Linked DNA regions of Homo sapiens: region 2 is linked to region 1. The links are contacts of gene promoters, found by promoter capture Hi-C in blood cells and fetal thymus (Javierre and others, 2016). All regions are on one chromosome and are shown on one strand. The core of a region is centred on a gene start or on the middle of the fragment in contact, and the rest is flanking DNA. Distances in the headings are between cores, read along the strand shown.

What was found. Contacts are between HindIII fragments. The CHiCAGO score rates a contact against its expected background, and 5 or more counts as called.
Region 2: a fragment that was not itself captured here is called in contact with the fragment with the promoter of AEN in region 1 in 2 of 17 cell types (total B cells and naive B cells); the score reaches 6.2 in total B cells.

Annotation. Positions count from the first base shown.
Region 1 is chr15:88,619,809-88,623,130 of GRCh38, forward strand. It overlaps AEN (apoptosis enhancing nuclease), which reads left to right and starts at 1,532. Exons shown (of 4, transcript NM_022767.4): 1 at 1,532-1,574. RefSeq lists enhancers at 740-1,413, 1,414-2,087, 1,417-1,576, 3,063-3,322 and a silencer at 1,597-1,786. The HindIII fragment of the contact is 13,176 bases long and covers 1-3,322 here.
Region 2 is chr15:89,133,957-89,137,010 of GRCh38, forward strand. All of the region lies in intron 3 of ABHD2 (abhydrolase domain containing 2, acylglycerol lipase), which reads left to right. It also overlaps the pseudogene HMGB1P8. Among named protein-coding and RNA genes, the nearest start is that of ABHD2, 47 kb to the left of the region's middle. The HindIII fragment of the contact is 5,708 bases long and covers 1-3,054 here.

The DNA of each region.
Region 1 (3,322 bases), core at 282-2,781:
CTCCTAAGTAGCATTTGAATCTGTCATTTCAAATGCTACTTAGGTGGGGAGCTCTTTATCCTCCACACCACTCTGGACATCATGATCTTCCAAATTTCCACAAACACTCCCCCACTCCTTTCTCCAGTCCTCATCCATTCCTCTCTATGCTGCAGCCAGAACAAGTTTTTTCAAATGCAGATTCACTGGTAAACTATCTATGGCTTAAATCCCTCTGCCTCCCCAAAGCCTTCAGGGGCCTGGGTAAAAGGATTGATCTCTCTTGTGACCTCATCCCTTGTCCTGCTTCCCTCAAATTTGTACTCCCATCAGAAAGAGCTCCTAGCTTATTTCTCATCACAGGTACGTTTCCAAATCACTTCTGCTTGCAAAATGTGAACTAAGAGAAGTCAGACTGCTTAGGTAAGGATCTTTGGATTCTAGGTGTTTCTCCTTAATTTAAGTGTCAATTTCCTTAACTGTAAAACTGAAATAATAGTAAGGTCATTGTACAAATTAACTGAGTATTTTGCCTGGCACATCATTCGTGCTCACATAATACGTGTGAACTGTTTATTATTGTTCTTGTTATTACTCATGTTACACTGAATTTTCTTTCTTTCTTTCTTTCTTTTTTTTTGAGACGGAGTTTTGCTCTTGGTGCCCAGGCTGGATGGAGTGCAATGGCGCGATCTCGGCTCACTGCAACCTCCGCCTTCTGGGCTCAAGCGATTCTCCTGCCTCAGCCTCCCGAGTAGCTGGGATTACAGGCTCCCGTCAACGCCCGGCTAATTTTTGTATTTTTGGAGAGATGGGGTTTCATGTTGGTCAGGCTGGTCTCAAACTCCTGACTTCAGGTGATCACCTGCCTCGGCCTCCCAAAGTGCTGGGATTACAGTCGTGAGCCACCGCGCCCCGGCCTCATGTTGCACTGAATTTTCTGTTAACCTTGCTGTTTCCCTGCTGTTAGATAAACAACTCAGGATGCTTATGTGTTTATTGTGTGCATCCCACTGCCAAGCCCACGTAGGAACTTAATACTTAGGAGTCAAGTGTTGCAAAAGAATAAATGAAAAAGCAGCGCTGACGGAGGAAACCTGACTTTCAAAGTCTCTCTTTAGTGCCTACTGTGTATATTATTTCCTTGAATCCCAGAACACCCGAGGAGGTAAGGGCCGATGTTCCCAATCTGCAGATGTGGGTGTACTCAGTAAGTCATTCGGCCTTTGGTGGTACCAGGCTTACAGGAGCCCACATCCCGACCCAGGTAGAGGAGTGGATTGGAGCCGGGGAACACTGATGGGACCGGGCAGGGACGACAGGAGGTCAGTCTCCCTTCCCTTCTCTTTAAAATTTCCCGCCAGTATGGCCGGCTCGCAGCACGAGTTACGCCCTCTTCAGGAGTCCCTCCCCTTCTGCTCTCGCCCGCCTCCCCGCTGCCAGGCAGGCTCGACCAATCAGAAGAGGTCTTGGGCGGGCGCTGCCGTCCAGCGAGCCAATAGGCGGGCAGTCGGAGCCGGGCTTGCCCGGGCATGTGGGAGCTGCCGGCTTTCCGGACGCCACGTGCAGACCGGAAGAGACACGCGGGGCTTCAGGTGAGATCCAGGACCCTGCACCGGGGCGGCGGGGTCGGGCGGGCTGAGGCCGCGTGTCCCGGGTCGCAGGTCCCCGCGCGTTGTTTCCGCCCCGGCCTGCGGCGGGGACGCCTGAACTGGGCTGACCCTGCCCTACCGGCCCGCAGAAAAGCAGGCCGGGCGCCGCCTGTCTCCAGCCCTCGCTCTGCTCGGGGGTCCAGGGCCAGAGGGGGCGGCGCTGGTCGTTGGGACTCGGCCCAGCTGCCGCGGCCAGCAAGTGACCAACGCCCGAGTCCTTCCCGGTGAGATCAGGCCTCCCACGCGTCACGCCTGGGAGAACGCCAGCCGGCGGGGAGGTCGTGCCAGGATAGCAGACTTTAGTTGTTGTCGTTGTTCCGTGGACTTTTTAGCAGCACAGGGGACCTTATCGAGCCAGGTTTTTTCAGGTTTGGGCGATTATCAGAATTGTGGCTTGAGGGTAGGGGTCGTCCGCGCTCTTTTTAAAAATCTAGATTCTCAGGCCCCTTTCCCCAAAATAGCAATTAGGACGGTGTGGGAGTGGGCCTGAAAATCAGCCTTTCATCAGATGTCATATGGTAATTAACTACATTTGGGAAGCCCTTATCTAATTCACAGCCCTCGGTTGATGGTGAAGAGACGTGACTTGCCCCAGATCATCTAGCTACTTAGTGCCAGAGGAGGGTCTAGAACTGCCCTCTGCCCTCTTGATCAGCCAGCAGGTTGGTGGCTCTCATGCCACCGAGGATTCTGACTTCTTGGTTCCTTTGGGGCCTTTGCTCCATTGACTCTGCAGCTGGGACCCTTTCTTTAGGCCAGACCCCCTCCCTGCCTGAAGGCCGGGTGTCTGACCCCCAGAGCGCTGGGTCCAGGCTAGAGAAAGGCTTGTGTTTGTCCTTGTTGAAAGGGTTGTTTTATCTGAGCGGAACTTCTCTCCAGCTTCACTGAGCTACATTTGGGTCCCCAAAGAGGTGTGTCCTTGATGACTGTTGGTTTTGACGTGTCAGCATGTAGCAGGAGGAGCCGCGGACAAAACCCCACAGAGGTAGTGAAGGAATTGGCTTTTAATCAGCTGGAAGCATCGGCAGACTAGCATCTCAAAATCCGAGCTTGTTGAGTGCACAGTTTCTGTCCCTTTTAAGGACTCACAACACTAAAGATTTTACAAGAAAGGGCCATGATTGATTGAGCAATCTAGGGGGTATGTGACAGGGACTGCATGCACCGGTAGTCAGAGTGAAACAGAACAGAACAGAACAAGAGATTTCACAGTGTCCTTCTATACAATGTCTGAAATCTATGGATAACATCGGTTGCTAGGTCATGGGTTTAATTTTAACTATCAGGCTAAGGTCAGGCAGGCCCAGGCCTGGTTTTGGGTCTGGTTTTGGGTCTGGTGCGTGGCGCCGGGCTGCCTGCCTTTGGTTTTGCTTCCTTGTTTCTTCTTAAAACAGGTACTGAGTATAAAATAATACAGAACAATATGAGGGGGAGGTCTCTTTCTCTCTTCTCTTAAGCAAGGTCAGGGTGTTTGGAAAAGGACTACTTTCCTCTCTTGAAATAGGAGGCTACAGAGACCTTTTCTCAGATAACTTAATTTCTGGCTTCTTTAAAACCTTGCCAGTAGGATCAGGAAAGCCACCCACCCTACTCCTAGCCTCAGCCCCTCACAGAGAAAGGAGGGGACTATCCGCCAGCCCCCTTTCCCAAATTAGTTATTAGCAGGGTGGGCATTGGGCTTCTTAGGCTTT
Region 2 (3,054 bases), core at 237-2,736, 510 kb after region 1:
CTCCTGAGTAGCTGGGACTACGGGTGCCTGCCACCACGACCGGCTAATTTTTTTTGTATTTTTAGTAGAGACGGGGTTTCACCATGTTAGCCAGGATGGCCTCGATCTCCTGACCTCGTGATCCTCCCGCCTCAGCCTCCCAGAGTGCTGGGATTACAGGCGTGAGCCACGGCGCCCGGCCGCATAATTTTTTTTAATGTTTGCATAATTAAATTTTTCAATTGTTTCTTTTGTGGCTTCTGGGATTTCTGGTTTCCTTAGAAAGGTCTTCTTCACTGCAAGATTATTTTTAAAAGCCTAGAATTTCTTCTAGCATATGAATGATTTCATTTTTATTTTGAAATGTTTCATCCTTCCAGAATTTATCCTGGTGTGAGGTGTGGCTCCAACATAATTTTTTTCAAGACGGCTACACTTTGTCCAACACTATTAAACAATCCATCTTTACCCCATTATTCAAATGCCACCTTTTTCACCAACTAAATTTCCTGGATGTATTTAGGCATATTTCCAGTCTTTTGTGTTCTGTTGATGGTCCTGAACATATACCATCAGCAGATTGCAGCTTTGTACTATGTTTTGCTGTGGGCAGTGGGGCGATGCTCATACCCCAGCACTGCTTGTTTTCATACTTTTCTTGGCTATTATAGCTGGTTCATTTTTCCAAATGAACTTTAGAATGCTTGTTTAATTCCACATATAAAAATCTTATTATTTTTATTGTGTATCTCTTAAGTTTATAGGTAATTTAGGGAAAATTGACATGTTTGTGATGCCAAGTTTTCCAGTGCAAGTTCATTTATTCAAGTCTTTGAGCCCGAAAGAGCATTATAAAGTTTTCTTATCTCCTTTTCTTGATTGTGAACTCCCTGGGAGCAAGAATGGGGTCAAGTTTTGAGTATGGCTTATTAGTAATGATCTATATAATTACTGACAAAAGAAACATAATTTTCATTAAATATTTGTAGAACCTACTTTTTCCTAACATCATTGCTTGCCATTTTATGAGTTGTTTTCTGCACATCAAAGAAAGGCAAGATGTAGTACAAATGCTGATGTCAAATGTCAGCATTTTAATCCTTAAAGTCATCTCTTGATTGGTGTGTTCTTTCTTTATTTATTTTTAATAAAAAATTGTATTTGCTTAGAAGCATTCAGAATGTCAACAAAATGGCTACAACTTTTTCTTTTTTTTTTTTTTTTTTGCAATTACAGAGTGGTATTCACTTAACAACAGTCATTTTATATAAGCTGCATCAGAGACAACTGAAGATGAAAAAACTACCATCCCCATATATAACTAATTTGTGCCATGCACTAACAAGAACCTGCTTTTAATTTCCATGCCAGTTTACAATCCCCATACTGTACTAGGCAAGGTTGGTGGCTATTGAAAATACCACCAGGACAGGGATATCTAAAGACACATTTGGTAGTGTGTTAACTATACAAAAAAAAAAAGACATTGTACAGTTTAAAAACAAATCTTACACAGCCTTACATTTCAGTTTTTTTCTTTAAAAGGAGTGAGTTATGTACAGGTTAAATGCTTTATAGACGAGAAAAAAAACTACACTAGAACCAACTTATTCATCATCATCTTCATCTTCCTCCTCCTCATTCTTATCCTCTTCATCTTCCTCATCTTCCTCCTCTTCCTTCTTTTTCTTGCTTTTTTCAGCCTTGACAACTCCCTTTTTTTGCTGCAGCAGGCTTTCCTTTAGCCCGATATGCAGCAATATCCTTTTCTTACTTTTCCTTCAGCTTCGCAGCCTTCTTTTTATAAGGCTGCCTGTCATCTGCAGCAATGTTATTCCACATCTCTCCCAGTTTCTTTGCAACATCATTAGTGGACAGGCCAGATGTTCTCCTTTGATATTTGGGCGATACTCAGAACAGAACAGAACAGGACAGAACAGAACAGGAAGAAGGCCGAAGGAGGCCTCTTGGGTGCACTGGGATCCTTTAACTTTTTTTTTTTTCTTTTGAGATGGAGTTTCCCTTTTGTTGCCCAGGCTGGAGTGCAATGGCGCAATCTCAGCTCACTGCAACCTCTGCCTCCCAGGTTCAAGCGATTCTTTTGCCTCAGCCTCCCGAGTAGCTGGGATTACAGACGCCCGCCACCATGCCTGGCAATTTTTTTTTTTTTTTCAGTAGAGACGGGCTTTCACTGTCTTGGCCAGGCTGGCCTCGAACTCCTGACCTTAGGTGATCTACCCGCCTCAGCCTCCCAAAGTGCTGAGATTACAGGCGTGAGCCACCACACCCAGCCTGAACGTCTTTTTTGTCTCCCCTTTAGGAAAGATACAGGTTTTCGTTTCTCTTTCGTATGGGCCCTGTCTGCCTTTGCCATATCTTCGAATTTTCCTTTCTGTTTAGTAGGCATGGTCTTCCACCTCTCTGAGCACTTCTTAGAAAACTCTGAGGAGTTGACTGAAGCATCTGGATGTTTGTTCTTATGTGCCTCCCTACAAGTTTGCACAAAAAATGCATATGATGGCATTTTCTCTCTTGGCTTCTTAGGGTCTCCTTTGCCCATGTTTAGTTATTTTTCCTCAGCAAGGCACAGAATTGCCCAGTGCCCATCTGGCTCTCACTTGCCCCAGTGCTATCTCTATGGAGCTCATTGTACTGCAATGGCTGTGATATCGGGAGCCAGGTGCAGCCTCCTCACTCTCTCCGCTCTATAACATTGCTCTCCAGCCAGCGCAGCTCCTAGTTGATTAGCGTGTTCTTAAAAGAGCATTCTGTGTAGGTAATCCAGGGGCTTCACATTTAGGTATTTGAGTTTTCCTCCACTAGGAATAGTGGCAAATATAATGTGATTTTCCAGCTCTAATCTTCCCTCCCCATAACGCTGGCACAGATTTTGAGGTAGCCTTGGCCTGGGAAGTAGCCAAAAGGCACTGTGTTGGACAAAGAGCAGACCATTGGCATCTATGTGCATGTCCTCAGGAGAGAGGTGACTAGGCAGATGGGGACAAGACACGGGTGCTCTGTGTTCTGAGCGTCAGCGTACATCCTGTTTGGTTAGCACAGAGTGAGTCTGGGAAC